Linked DNA regions of Homo sapiens: all the other regions are linked to region 3. Evidence: promoter capture Hi-C in 16 types of primary human blood cells and fetal thymus (Javierre and others, 2016). All regions are on one chromosome and are shown on one strand. Each heading gives the region's core, a stretch centred on a gene start or on the middle of the fragment in contact. The rest is flanking DNA. Distances are from core to core; before and after follow the strand shown. Region 1 has its middle 13 kb from the start of GLRX. Region 2 holds the start of RFESD (Rieske Fe-S domain containing). Region 3 holds the start of LNPEP (leucyl and cystinyl aminopeptidase). Region 4 overlaps CHD1 (chromodomain helicase DNA binding protein 1). Region 5 holds the start of GPR150 (G protein-coupled receptor 150).

What was found. The method cuts DNA at HindIII sites, captures the fragments that hold promoters and counts their contacts. A CHiCAGO score of 5 or more calls a contact.
Region 1: a fragment that was not itself captured here is called in contact with the fragment with the promoter of LNPEP in region 3 in 1 of 17 cell types (naive CD8 T cells); the score reaches 6.4 in naive CD8 T cells.
Region 2: the fragment with the promoter of RFESD here is called in contact with the fragment with the promoter of LNPEP in region 3 in 1 of 17 cell types (fetal thymus); the score reaches 6.6 in fetal thymus.
Region 4: a contact is called between a fragment that was not itself captured here and the fragment with the promoter of LNPEP in region 3, in 1 of 17 cell types (fetal thymus). The highest score is 12.8, in fetal thymus.
Region 5: a contact is called between the fragment with the promoter of GPR150 here and the fragment with the promoter of LNPEP in region 3, in 1 of 17 cell types (fetal thymus). The highest score is 5.1, in fetal thymus.

Annotation. Positions count from the first base shown.
Region 1 is chr5:95,808,113-95,810,812 of GRCh38, forward strand. No RefSeq gene overlaps it. Among named protein-coding and RNA genes, the nearest start is that of GLRX, 13 kb to the right of the region's middle. RefSeq lists enhancers at 275-324, 575-664, 1,085-1,164. The HindIII fragment of the contact is 3,103 bases long and covers 1-2,700 here.
Region 2 is chr5:95,645,400-95,648,099 of GRCh38, forward strand. RFESD (Rieske Fe-S domain containing) reads left to right here and starts at 1,378. Exons shown (of 6, transcript NM_001131066.2): 1 at 1,378-1,418. The HindIII fragment of the contact is 4,150 bases long and covers 1-1,687 here.
Region 3 is chr5:96,934,637-96,937,336 of GRCh38, forward strand. LNPEP (leucyl and cystinyl aminopeptidase) reads left to right here and starts at 1,444. Exons shown (of 18, transcript NM_005575.3): 1 at 1,444-1,538. The coding sequence starts at 1,520. It overlaps LOC124901030, which reads right to left and starts at 1,439. Exons shown (of 1, transcript XM_047417984.1): 1 at 1-1,439. The coding sequence starts at 1,439. The coding sequence ends at 735. It also overlaps a transcript of ERAP1 not described here. RefSeq lists enhancers at 1-47, 358-497, 798-1,107 and silencers at 128-247, 688-757, 1,698-1,767, 1,898-1,977. The HindIII fragment of the contact is 7,112 bases long and covers 1-2,700 here.
Region 4 is chr5:98,919,807-98,922,506 of GRCh38, forward strand. The region is part of intron 2 of CHD1 (chromodomain helicase DNA binding protein 1); the gene reads right to left. Among named protein-coding and RNA genes, the nearest start is that of CHD1-DT, 7.4 kb to the right of the region's middle. The HindIII fragment of the contact is 2,275 bases long and covers 203-2,477 here.
Region 5 is chr5:95,618,706-95,621,405 of GRCh38, forward strand. It overlaps GPR150 (G protein-coupled receptor 150), which reads left to right and starts at 1,382. Exons shown (of 1, transcript NM_199243.3): 1 at 1,382-2,700. The coding sequence starts at 1,571. RefSeq lists an enhancer at 938-1,553 and silencers at 1,723-2,122, 2,213-2,262, 2,280-2,574, 2,283-2,700. The HindIII fragment of the contact is 5,492 bases long and covers 1-2,700 here.

The sequences.
Region 1 (2,700 bases), core at 56-2,555, 1.1 Mb before region 3:
TGAAGGGGCGCTTTGCATCCTTTGCTCCTTTTCTCACTTGGAGGAGGAGGATTCCTCTGGTTAGATTAAGGACAGTCTATCTGCCACTGGGCCACACCTTCACACAGGGGTGGGGAAACGGACTCAAAAATAACCTAAGGTGTGGCCGCCCCTCCCTTGTGCTGCCAGCTAAAGGCTTCCTGGATGGAGAGGAGAACTAGGGCTCCTTGGTTTTCCTGTGGTTTACCTGTCTGGAGATGCCCACACTGTTCCCTTTCTGGGGGCAGCTGTCCCTGCCACCCCCTGAACTTTTTAATCACACAGTGACTGATTTGATGAGGCTAAAGGAGATCTTCTATGCAGGGGGCTGGATGAAGGCACCCAGAGTCAGCTCTACACAAGGGTCGCATTCTAGATGTCGGGGGACAGCCCCCGTGGCCACAGGTTCCAGCCGTGCTCTTTAATTCTGTCTTCCCAGGAGTTGCTGGTCCTCCATTCCCAGAGTGGGTCCTTTGGTCCCCATTTAACACATCTGGCTAGAACCCTGGGCAGACTGTGTTAAAGATCATCCACACTCAGTTCTCAAGGATGACTTAATAATGGGAGGAAGCGCAAAATCTCCACCCCATAAACAGCTTGTAATTTTACATATGAAATGTTTTAAGTTTCACAAGGCACACAAGAGAATAGGAAGGAGGCATCTCTTCTTGCTTCTGAGAAAGCTCAGCTGCAGGTCCCCAGAGGCTTGAGCCCCGCCAACTAGGAGGGAGGAGTTGAGTGCGCTGGAAGAGTCCGTAAAAAACCCCAGAGCCCCAGCTTGCACGATGTTCTGTGCCGTCATTGGCTCTCCTAGTTCCCCTCTCTCTCCTACCTTCAGCTCTGCACAGCTCACCAGAAAAGTCGCCTGGAGACAGGAAGTATAAACTTGTGCATAAATATAGACCCATTTTTAAATATCCCTTGTGCTTAAAGGGACCAGGCCAGAATTCTCTTCCCCTAATGAGCAGGATTAAATTCTTCCCCTTCAAACATTCGGTGTATTTGGTAAGAAGACCCCTATTAATATAAGAAAGGAACTCTAAGTAAAATATCTCAGGATCCCAGTTCTTTACAATATTTCCCACGACCTGTGAACAATTATTATGGTGTAGTAAATTAGGGAGCATGGCTTTCTCTGGCAACCAAATGTCAAGATAACGACCTAATAATACTCACTGGGGATATAAATAGTGTGGTCTGGGCCACATAGATCCATTTACCACCAGTTTAGGAATTTACCATCAGTTTAAGAATTTACCAGTTCTTTCTCCTTAAGGGGCATCTTTGGACAGCCTTGAATTGGAAGAAATGGCTGTCTGGAGTCTAGCCCAAAGGGCCAGGTTGGAGGAAGCAGAGAAGGTGGTTATTAAAATCAACAACATTCGCAGGAGATTGGATCACTTGCTTTCTTCAGTAAACAGAAAGAGTAGAGCTTTGGCTGTGAATTTTTTGGTGGTTAATTTTTGCTGTTTTTTTCTGCCAGCCCCTATTGCCAATCTCTCTCCATGTTCTTTGAAAGATCATTCTTTCTATCCTTGCAGATCACACGGAATTACTCAGCAAGGAGCAGGGCAGAAAACAGGAGGTTACATGAGAGTCTACACACTGGCCAGGAAGCTGCCAAGTCCCTTTTCCCTGCTTGGCAGCCAGAACCCTGAGGATGAGGCCCAACCCCCAGCTGTGAAGCTGGAGAGACTGAATGGCTCAAAAGAAAAGGTGTCCAGGAACCAATAATTGGGGGATCTCCCAGTGAGGCAACCAGATCTGTACCTGTTCATTTATTCTTTAATTTGTTCACTCAAGAAAGAGCCTACTATCTGCCAAGCAGTCTTGATGCTGCAGATACAGCGGTAAATAGACACCAATCCCTGACCTCAAGGCACTTATATTCTAATAGTGAAGAGACAGTAAACTAAATAAATCATACCATATATTAAAAGATAGACTGGGTGTGGTGGCTCACGCCTCTAATCTCAGCACTTTGGGAGGCCAAAGCAGGTGGATCACTTGAGCTCAGGAGTGTTGATCAGCCTGGGCAACAAGATGAAACCCTGTCTCTACCAAAAATACAAAAAATTAGGTGAGCCTCCATGGAGGTGTGCATCTGTGGTCCCAGCTACTCAGGAGGCTGAGGTGGGAGAATCGCTTGAACGTGGGAGGATTGCTTGAGCCCAGGAGGCAGAGGTTGCAGTGAGCTGAGATTGTGCCACTGCACTCCAGCCTGGATGACAGAGTAAGACCCCATCTCAAAAAAAAGATAAATGCTATAGAAAAAAATAAATAAATTGAAAAAGAGGGATAGGGAATGCTAAGTGAAAGTGAAAGGGAGAGTGTTAGATAGGGGGATGGGGGATCCCTTGCTGAGAAGGTGACATTTGAACAAAGACGCTCTCGATGGTGAAGCTATCCGTTGGCAAGCCTAATCTATGCACACAAGTCTTCCAGTCAGTTTTTTTAGTGCCTCATTCTTTAAATATTTACAGATAGTCAGATCTCCAGACATTTGAGGAAGGCTTTCAAATGTAAAACAGAGAAAGAAAATTGGGGCTCAGAGGAAAAACAATAAAAAAGAGAAAGCTGCAGTTTGCTAACTTTCTTTCTATAGCCATTCTCCCCTTCTTTTGATATAGATCTCCTCGAGTTTTAGTGAGTTTTAGTTAGGTAAGAGGCTTCCCAGGCAGG
Region 2 (2,700 bases), core at 128-2,627, 1.3 Mb before region 3:
TCCTGGGTTTCGGCTGCCCCAGTTCATTGGGCCACCCTAGAGCCTGAGATCACTATGTCACCATACTAAATACAAGTTGTAGTGTTCAACCTTGGGTTCACACTGGAATCACTCAGGAAGTTAAAAACATACATTGAATCTGCCCACTCCCTTCCCACCCCAAATAATCTGTGTTTTATTTTGTTGGTCTGGCATACAGACTGGGCATTACGACTTTTCAAAACTCCCAAGCGACTCTAAGGCATAGCCAGGGTTAAGAATCACTGCACTGGAAAGTAGTCAAGGAAATTAAAAACTTAGGCTCATCTAGTTTCCCAGCTCGGAACACAAATATGAGGGTTTTGGTGGTTTTCTTTGTTGTTGTTGTTGTCAATTCAGGGAAGTACAATGAGAAAAAAGCAAAATTGCAAAGTTCATAATATGAAAGTGAAAACTCTCCATCTCCTCCCAAAGCAACCACTATTGTTTCTTTTGATTTTTCGAGAAAAAGTTTATGTACATACCTGCATGTTTGTATTTCAAAAAATAATTGTTTACATTAAAGAGAGGACACCATATATAGTATTCTACGCTTTGCCTTTAATATTCATTACATGATGGGCCTGTCCTTTGAGTATACAGTACACAGCTACGAAGTAATTCACATGTCTGTACTGTTGTGCTGTGTTTTATTGAACCATTCCTCCGTGTTATCACTTCAGCTATTTTCACTACTTCACAGCAATAAACATTTTTTTTTTTTTTGAGATGGAGTTTCGCTCGTGTTGTCCAGGCTGGAGTGCAACGGCGCGATCTCGGCTCACCGCAACCTCTGCCTCCTGGATTCAAAGCGATTCTCCTGCCTCAGCCTCCTGAGTACCTGCGATTACAGGCCTGGGCCACCACGCCCGGCTAATTTTGTATTTTTAGTAGAGATGGGGTTTCTCCATGTTGGTCAGGCTGGTCTCAAACTCCCGACCTCAGGTGATTCGCCCGCCTCGGCCTCCCAAAGTACTGGGATTACAGGCGTGAACCACCGCGCCCGGCCTTAACATCCTTATACATGGGTTACCAGCATCGCGACGACCTTCTGCAAATATTTTTATAGGGTAAATAACTGAATGAAGTCGCTGGGCGCATCTAAAATTTGAATAAATGTAATGAGATCAACAAACAACTAAAAAGTAAACTGATGCTATCCACATTTGTCAAGTACACGAGTATGCCTGCCAGTTTGAAGGTGCTGGCGCGGCGCTGTTGGCCAGAGATCTCTATCAACCAGGGTCATCTGCCGGCAATGCCATAGAGGCGGTCCCGGGGGCGGGCCTTCTTGGGTCACGTGGACGGCCTCGCCCCGCCCCCGTCGAGGCGCCGCGCACGTCTGGAGCTCTGGCTCGTGCAGTAGCGTCACGCGGAGGCGGAGCGAGGACTCGGGGACAGTAAGTTCTGTTCTCGCCGCGCAGGGGGCGGGCTGGCGGGACCAGCTGCTTCCGGCTGGGCTGCGGGCGTGGACTCCTCATTCCGGCTGTGGCCGCGCCGCTGCGGGGCCTGAGGCCCTCTTGGGTTTTGGTTCAGCGTTAGTTAACGGTTAACCCGCCAAGGCGGGCTTCCGCCCAGGCACAGGAGACTCACCGAGCTTGTTCACCTTGAAACTTGGGCCACACCTGAGACCTGCCACCTAAGGGGGGTACGCGGGTCGTTTTTAACAAGCTTTCATGGCATTTGTGCCATGAAAGCTCTAAAGTATAGAAGCTGCTCCAGGGCTTCCGCAGCCCCGGCCGTCCTGGAGATACTCGCCTCCTGGAGTCTGTGTCGAGAATTTGCAGCACCTGGACAGCCACGTGCAGTCTCAGAACTGCAGGCGGTCTTTACCGAAATGTTAAACACAACTTGAAGTTAGGCAGGATAACTGCCAGAGCTGGATGGACCTTAGAGGTGCCAGCTAACGCGCTGTGAGCGTTTTCTGCGGTTAGGCCTGCTCTAAACATTTGACATGTGTTAAAGCATTTATGTGCTTTACCCACACCCCTATGTGGCGGGCCCTTCTTAAAGTAAAAGAAACTGCAGCACAGCGAAGTTAAGCAACTTGCCCCAAATCACGCAGAACTGGGATGCAAACCCAGGTCTAGCTCACTCGTGATCACAATTCAACATCATACGATGGTGCTGATTTCCAGAGCAGCTCTGTGACTTTATATAAAATTATTGGGCAAGCGTTCAATTGTAAACATTCGTGAACATAGCTGTTGCACATTAGCGTTCCTTTTTTTTTTTAATTCAGGACCATCTTTGGTGACAAATATAAATATCAATACTATATATATCACCAATATACATATTTGCTTTGCTAAAAGGTTTCTGTGTCTTCAGGATAGTTTACTTGCAAGCCTCATGTTTTTATAAAAACGTGGGTGCTACCTGAATAAAACTAATGCCTACCCGTTGGCGGTTTTGTGAAGACTAATGAACTATTATATTCAAAGGGTCCAAGCAGTAGGCATTTACTAAAGGACAGCTAGTTTTATCTGTTATTATTCTGCCATTCAGAGAGATACCAAAACTACTCTCTAAGGCATTTCTCTTCCCTGCATGTAAAAGCAAGGGTGTCATACTTGAGATAAGCATTCTGATAATGTGTAGGCAAAGTTTCCACACTTGGTAAAAGCATCTTAGTCATGGTTCAAGACGAGTGACAAGTAAGTACGTTTCACTTCATGTTTC
Region 3 (2,700 bases), core at 194-2,693:
AATATTGTACTTCGATTTGACTTCTTCGAAACCTAGTTTCCAATTCCAGTGCTGGTCAAACAACACCCTGGCCGTCCCTGTTTGAGCAGGCTGTTTGCGCTTGCCGCGGCTTGTTTGTCCCTGGCGCCCCGCTGTTGAAAGCCTCAGAGCGTGTGACAGTTGGCAGGCGCAGTGAGGCGCAGCCCGAGCCAAGTCAATGCAGGGGCCGGGGCTGAGGGAGGGGAAGAGGCAGAGGAGGCGGTGATGGCGCGCTGGGAGGGCGGCGGCCTCTGCAGCGAGGGTGGTGGCGATGCGCATACCGAGAGGATAAGGAAGCGGTTCCCGACGAGCCTCCTCGGGGCTTATGGGGCCCCTGGCGGTTCGGCCTCGGAGGCTAGCGGGGCTGCCCGATTTGGCACTGGAAACAATGGTGGCTCGGGGCTGGAGGCAATGGCGCGAGTGCTGGGGGGCAGGGGCGACTAGGGGAGTTTCGGTTTCTCGGGCCTAGCGCCGCGGAGCCTTGCTGCGGGCCCCAGTGGTAGCACCCCCGGGAACCGCAGGTGTTGATTTAAGGCTCGGAACAGGCGGGCCTTCTGCCCACATCCTGCGGCGCCCGCGACCCGGGCCGGGCGATCCGGCGCCGGGTTTTGTTATCCGCCCGCACCTAGAGGCCGCAAGGCAGCCGCCAGCCCCGGGACTGGACCCCAGGGCGCCCTCGGCCCTGCGAGGTCCCCGCCCTCTCTTCCGTCTCCTCCTCACCGCCCTCCTGAGGCACTCTGATGCGGGCGGGCATCTCTGCCGAAAACACCTACAGCGCCCGCTCCCTCGGTCCTTCGAGCAGTGATCCCTCCGCGGCCAACCTCCCCAGGGAAACCAGCGATTCGCGGTTCAGATAGCGACCTTCGCCCGCAGGTTCCTGCTCTGCCTTCAGACTTCGGCTTCAGTGGCACCTGCTCAGCGAGGCCTCGTCTAACCAAGCCATCCGAATTAACTACCCACTCACTCGCCATCACATCACCCCGATTTAATTCGCAGCGGGGCACTGACTTTACACTCGTGTGTCTTCTGTGTTTATTTATGGTCTGTTTCTGGAATGTCCGCTCCTGGGACTGGGACCATGATTTTCTGGCGCAGTGCGGGTGTCTCGGCGTCCGGGATCGGGCGGGTCGCAGTAGGGCTCCACATTTGTTGAGTGACTGAACACCGTTCCCGGCCGGGGAGAGCGCCGCAGCCGGGTCCACTTCAGGTAGGGGCTGGGCTTTCCCGGCCCCGCCTAGGCCCCGCCCCCAGCGCGAACCCGCTCCCACCTCGCCTGTCCACGGAGCAGCAGGGGGTTTGACTGTGCTTTTCCCTCTTGCTTCCCTCGCTCTTTCTGCAGCTGCCACGAAAACCCGGAACGGCGGAGCGGCGCCGCCCCTCGCGGCACCTCCCTGGCAGCCCTTGGAGGCCGCGCTGGGCATGCTCAGTCAGCTGGGCCGCCTCAGCTCTCGGAGTAGGAAGCTCGGGCGCTCCGGCTGTAAGGAGCCGCGGCGGGGGGAAAATGGAGCCCTTCACCAATGGTGAGTGGGCTGCCGAGGCGCCGGGACCCGGGCTCTCCGGAGCCCTGAGGGTCGTGGGCAGTCGTGACACGCGGGGTCGGGCTGCAGCCGTCTCCCCCAACACCGCGGGCTTCCCACGAGGGCTGAGGGAGGCAGGGAGAGGGGATCTGGGGGAGGCAGGGAGGTTCGGGGGGCGGGCGGCGGCCAGTGCGGGACCCGGGGCTGGCTTGAAGGTCAGCGCCGCCGCCGCTCGCCCGGGGTGCGGCCGGTGGGCAAACAGCAAAGTTTGGGCTGCTGTGCGCAGAGGAGTGGGCAGTGGGAAAGTTGGCAGCTCAGGTTTGCCCCCGGAGGAGGCGGTGTCGGCCCGACTCTCCTGTAGGAGCGTTAAGTTGTGGCAGCTGCCGAGCCCAACTTTTGTGGGGCGCCAGGAGCTGTCCCCCTGCCCTTCAGTGAGCTGCCGGCGTGACTTTTCCTAATAGGGCGGGGTGGGGGTGGGAGGCTTGGCAGGTTAATGTTGTGGAAGGAAGGGAAACTTCAGGAAAGGCTTGCTCACCTCGCTCGGTGCCGCGGAGGTGCCTGGCCACAGTGCCACCCTCCTGACCCTGCCGAGGTACTCGGCAGGGCCACCACGCATCCCCTCACTGGCTGCAGATCACATCAGTTTTTCAGTCAAAGACTTGTTAATGTCAAGGGTCCGTCACGGTGGTGATACCACTGTGTGACAGGAAGCGAGAGTCAACGCAGGGAGCCTGCACCCTGCAAACAGCCACAGCCCTTCACTGAACGGGGAGCATAAATCCCACCCTAGTTAGAACCATGGCTTTTGTGCGGACCAGAAGTGCCAGAGCCACAATATAGGGGTGAGATGTCTTACCGTTTTGCGGTGTTGAGTGTGTGGATTCCCTTTTAAGATAGAAAGTAGGAAAACTGCCAGTAAGGGAGACGACTCACTAAAAGAGGATTCAGTCTCTGGTTGACATGTTTTGCTGAGTGTGGTTGGTTACTTCAGGTACAGTATCACATTAATAGGGGCCACAGTCTATATCCCTGTTTAGTTTGTTAGTTACCACTCAAGAGCAGACAGATATTGTCCACTTTATCCCAAATCCCAGCCAGACTTTGTTGTATGCTGTGCTTCATTCATGGGGCTGTGAACTACTGATTATATTCTCCCTATTCCTAA
Region 4 (2,700 bases), core at 90-2,589, 2.0 Mb after region 3:
TATTACCTAGCTCTGTCTACTTTGTTCACTGAGAGGAAATAAAAGCAGTGACACTTGAATATCAACAAGCACACCCAGTACCCAAATCTTGGTTTCTAATGCCATTCTCCAAAAAAATGGAACCAAGGCTCCTTGGAGAGTGGCTGATTCTAGGGTAAAAGTAAGGCAGTGTGTAAAAGAAACATACGAGCCAACCTAAAAAAGCTTCCAAGAGCCAAGGCTAGATCAATTTAAGTAACAAAAAAGTCAACTATTATACAATAGATACATAAAATACCTATTATACATAAATATATACAAATATATATTTTATAGAGTTGTAATCCACTAAGCTGGATTACAACTCAAAGCACATACATAAATCCATACATATATAAACGATTTAGAAATTTCCTTACAGAAATTCCATTTAATATATGTAAATACTCCCCCCACCAGGAGATGGAATTTAATTCCTATCCCAACCCTCTTGAAAGTAGGCTAGACAAAATGACTTGCTTCCAAAGAATATATTATGGAAAGGGAAAAACAGTAACTTTACAGTAGAGAAACTTGCAAATACTACCTTGACCAAGTGAGAGGTTAACACCACCAGTAATGTCATGAGGATAACATGTTTCCCATATGATGTGACTAGCACACTTTATCTTTGTGGTATTCTTTCTAAAAACCAATAACCCTAGTTTATCCTAAGAACAATAGACAAGGCCAGGTGTGGTGGCTCACACACCTGTAATCCCAACACTCTGGGAGGCCAAGGTGGGTGGATTACCTGAGGTCAAGAGTTCAAGATCAGCCTGACCAACACAGAGAAACCCTGTCTCTACTAAAAATACAAAAATTAGCCAGGCATGGTGGTGCACACCTGTAGTCCCAGTCACTCGGGAGGCTGTGGCAGGAGAATCGTTTGAACCCAGGAGGCGGAGGTTGCAGTGAGGTGAGATCGTGCCATTGCACTCCAGCCTGGGCAACAGAGCAAGACGCCGTCTCAAAAAAAAAAAAAAAAAGACAAATCTAGATTTCAAAAACATTCTACAGGATACCTGGCCAGTATTTCTCAAGATGGTTTAGACCATGAAAACTAAGGAAAGACTTAGAAACTCTCACAGATGAAAGGAGACTGGGGAGACGTGACAACTAAATGCAATGTGGCACTCTGGATTTAATCCTACAACAGAAAAGAGGGAGTTAATGGAAAAATCAATGAAATCCAAGTATAGAGTTTAGGTAATAGTTTTTTAAAAAAGAATAAAAAAATAAATAAAATGGCTATAAATCTTGTTTCCCCATCTGGAAAGTGGGAATCATAACAATGTATACATCACAGAAGTTTTGTGAGGATGAACTGTGACAATTCAAGTAATGCACAATGCCCTATGTGCATCATGCTAGGTTAAGGCACAGCAAGAGCTCAACAATCATCAGTTGCCATTGTTACTGCTTCCGGAGAAACGAAACTTACCTAGCCTCTTGCTAGTCCTGCTCAAGACACAATTAATTGGAGGTTCGCAGAGAATGAAAACCATGTATAACAACATCAATAACAAAGTGGCAAGATGCTATGACTCCAGATGAATAGCTTCATATAAATGTATATGAACTTAATACATAAGAATCACTTAGAATCTTGTTAAAATGAAGATTCTGATTCAGTACGTCTGGGGCGAGGCACAAGGTTCTACAGTTATAATAAGCTCCCAAATGATGCCAACACCGCTGGTCCACGGACCACAACTGGTGCAACTTTTCTATTTCTGTAGTTTTAAATATTTCCCATTTTAAAAAAAGGTTAAACATTTTCTCCATTCATCATAAAGTAATACTCATTTTAAAACACAAAACTGCACCATATATAACCAATCAGTCATCAAGATCTTAAACAAGCAGCTACTTAAGCAGAGTAAAAGGGGTAACATCACATTAATGTTTGCCCACACATTATGACTACATACAGAAAAGTAATCTTTGAAAGGTAACTCATACACCATTCTGATCTTTAACCATATAGCCATTCCTGAAGTAAATCATCACTCAAGATAACTTATTTAAAACTAAAAAAAGTCAGCCAGGCGCAGTGGCTCATGCCTGTAATCCCAGCACTTTGGGAGGCCGAGGTGGGTGGATCACAAGGTCAGGAGTTCAAGACCACCAGCCTGGCCAACATGGTGAAATCCCATCTTTACTAAAAATACAAAAATTAGCGGGGCATGGTGGCGGGCACCTATAATCCCAGCTACTCAGGAGGCAGAGGCAGAAAACTGCCAGAACACAGGAGACGGAGGCTGCAGTGAGCCAAGATCGTGCTACTGCACTCCAGCCTGGGCAACAGTGAGACTCCATCTCAATTAAAAAAAAACAAACCACACACACACTAAAAAAAAGTCTACCAGGATTTGAAAAATTTGCTTGCAAATACCACCACAAATCCACACAGCTGCAAATTGATGCTTTGAAATCTTCCAGCATTATCTTTAAAAAGCTTAACTTCAGTTACATAAAACTTTGTGTTGAGCTGTAACTGTTATACAGGTGCATCCTGGCCCACATTTCTTAGTAACTAAATTTCAAGACTGTCAGCAATAGCATAGCAAAAGAGACATATTTTTCCTGTGTATTCTTCTTCCTTTCAGTGAATAGTTATAGAGAGATCTCCAGACAGAAAGAATAGTTAAAAATTTTTTTTTTCAGTAGAAAGCTAAC
Region 5 (2,700 bases), core at 132-2,631, 1.3 Mb before region 3:
TGGGCTCCTCTGGACAATACTGGCATAGTATAAAAGGAATTTTTTCTTAGGTGATGGATTTATAGTCAAGGCAGGCATTTATGCTCGAAGGTATCTGAAAAGCATCGTATATCCACTAATTCATCAACTCAACACATACCCACTGATAACTACAACCTGTCAGACCAGAGCGAGGCACCACAGAGATGATGATGAAAATAACCAAGGTTTCTGGCCAAAGGACAACAGCTTGGGAAATGGGATTCCTACAGCAGCTGGCAGGACTATCATGGAACCCACCAAATCTTCCTAGGCCATGAATCTTAAAGTTCCAAATGTTTCCTCAGATTGGGAATGTGAACCCTAGACAACACTCATACCTCCCTGGCCCCCAGGCCAGGAAGTACAGGAAATTCTACTTTCACCATGATTAACGTGGAGGGTGCATAAAAAGACAAATGGATGCTTCCAACAGGGAAACTAAAATGTGTTTGTGAGGAGACAAGGCTAAAATGAAAGCAGCAACATTTAATCTAAACCATTTCCTGTGACTTGGATTTCTTTTTTAAAAAAATTGGCCGCCTTATCACTTTCTTAGTCACCTTTTCTCTAGGCTTATTGGAGGCGTAGCCCCTCCTAGCAACTTCCCATCTGCTGGAAAACAGAATCAAGAGAATGAGGAGTGTGATGACGCATCCTTCACTGGATGAAAATATTAGGAGAAAAGCAATAAATGCACTACCATTTGCATAAAACCTATTAATGCCCTCTTCAGACTAATGAAATGAATTTTACATCACCAAGAAAGCAGCTGTGACCCACTGCTCCTAGTATTTGGAACGATCTGCAACACTGCCACTCCTAAAAGCAACATCATTGACTTTAGTACCCTCTAATTAAAATACTTTCATTCTTGGACAGAGAAGACACATCTTGATCAAAATTCAGCTAATAGGTCTCCTCTTTGCTCAAAACGCTGTTAGGTTTCTTGTGTTCCTGTTTTTCTCATGCTCGTGCAGATCCATGGCATTTCAAACCTTTAAAATAAAAACTAATGTCTTTTCTATTTTTTTCCTACTGGCAATCACATTGGGGTGGTGGGGGCGTGTGGTACAATCTCAGTCAAGAGGTCCTCTCTTGTGTGGGTGCTGGCATAACACTGGCCGTATACAATGGCCAAGCAAAGCGACATTCTGTCCTGCTGTGCTTTACACGTAAATAGAGAATGGATGAGGTTCTCAGCGCCCAGGGGTCCGCGGCTTCCGCGAGGGTAGCGTCGGGGGCCGCTGCAGAGATTGGAAGAGTACCCGCCGGGAATGGGAGGGAAGACGCGGGGAAGGTGGAGAATAGGAATCATGTGTGTTCCTCGAGTGTACAACCCACATTTGAGTGACAAATCACGAGGACAATCGACAAAAACAACTAAGCGCAAAGCCGCCCGAATCCATCTCCCTCTCTGTGCGTGTGCCTTTTCAACTAACTTTGGGAACTCGTATAGACCCAGCGTCGCTCCCCGCGCCGCCTCGCCTCCACTTTGGTTTCCCGCGTCCTGCCCGCCCTCTTCGGTGCCTCCTCTTCCTCCGGGACAAGGATGGAGGATCTCTTTAGCCCCTCAATTCTGCCGCCGGCGCCCAACATTTCCGTGCCCATCTTGCTGGGCTGGGGTCTCAACCTGACCTTGGGGCAAGGAGCCCCTGCCTCTGGGCCGCCCAGCCGCCGCGTCCGCCTGGTGTTCCTGGGGGTCATCCTGGTGGTGGCGGTGGCAGGCAACACCACAGTGCTGTGCCGCCTGTGCGGCGGCGGCGGGCCCTGGGCGGGCCCCAAGCGTCGCAAGATGGACTTCCTGCTGGTGCAGCTGGCCCTGGCGGACCTGTACGCGTGCGGGGGCACGGCGCTGTCACAGCTGGCCTGGGAACTGCTGGGCGAGCCCCGCGCGGCCACGGGGGACCTGGCGTGCCGCTTCCTGCAGCTGCTGCAGGCATCCGGGCGGGGCGCCTCGGCCCACCTCGTGGTGCTCATCGCCCTCGAGCGCCGGCGCGCGGTGCGTCTTCCGCACGGCCGGCCGCTGCCCGCGCGTGCCCTCGCCGCCCTGGGCTGGCTGCTGGCACTGCTGCTGGCGCTGCCCCCGGCCTTCGTGGTGCGCGGGGACTCCCCCTCGCCGCTGCCGCCGCCGCCGCCGCCAACGTCCCTGCAGCCAGGCGCGCCCCCGGCCGCCCGCGCCTGGCCGGGGGAGCGTCGCTGCCACGGGATCTTCGCGCCCCTGCCGCGCTGGCACCTGCAGGTCTACGCGTTCTACGAGGCCGTCGCGGGCTTCGTCGCGCCTGTTACGGTCCTGGGCGTCGCTTGCGGCCACCTACTCTCCGTCTGGTGGCGGCACCGGCCGCAGGCCCCCGCGGCTGCAGCGCCCTGGTCGGCGAGCCCAGGTCGAGCCCCTGCGCCCAGCGCGCTGCCCCGCGCCAAGGTGCAGAGCCTGAAGATGAGCCTGCTGCTGGCGCTGCTGTTCGTGGGCTGCGAGCTGCCCTACTTTGCCGCCCGGCTGGCGGCCGCGTGGTCGTCCGGGCCCGCGGGAGACTGGGAGGGAGAGGGCCTGTCGGCGGCGCTGCGCGTGGTGGCGATGGCCAACAGCGCTCTCAATCCCTTCGTCTACCTCTTCTTCCAGGCGGGCGACTGCCGGCTCCGGCGACAGCTGCGGAAGCGGCTGGGCTCTCTGTGCTGCGCGCC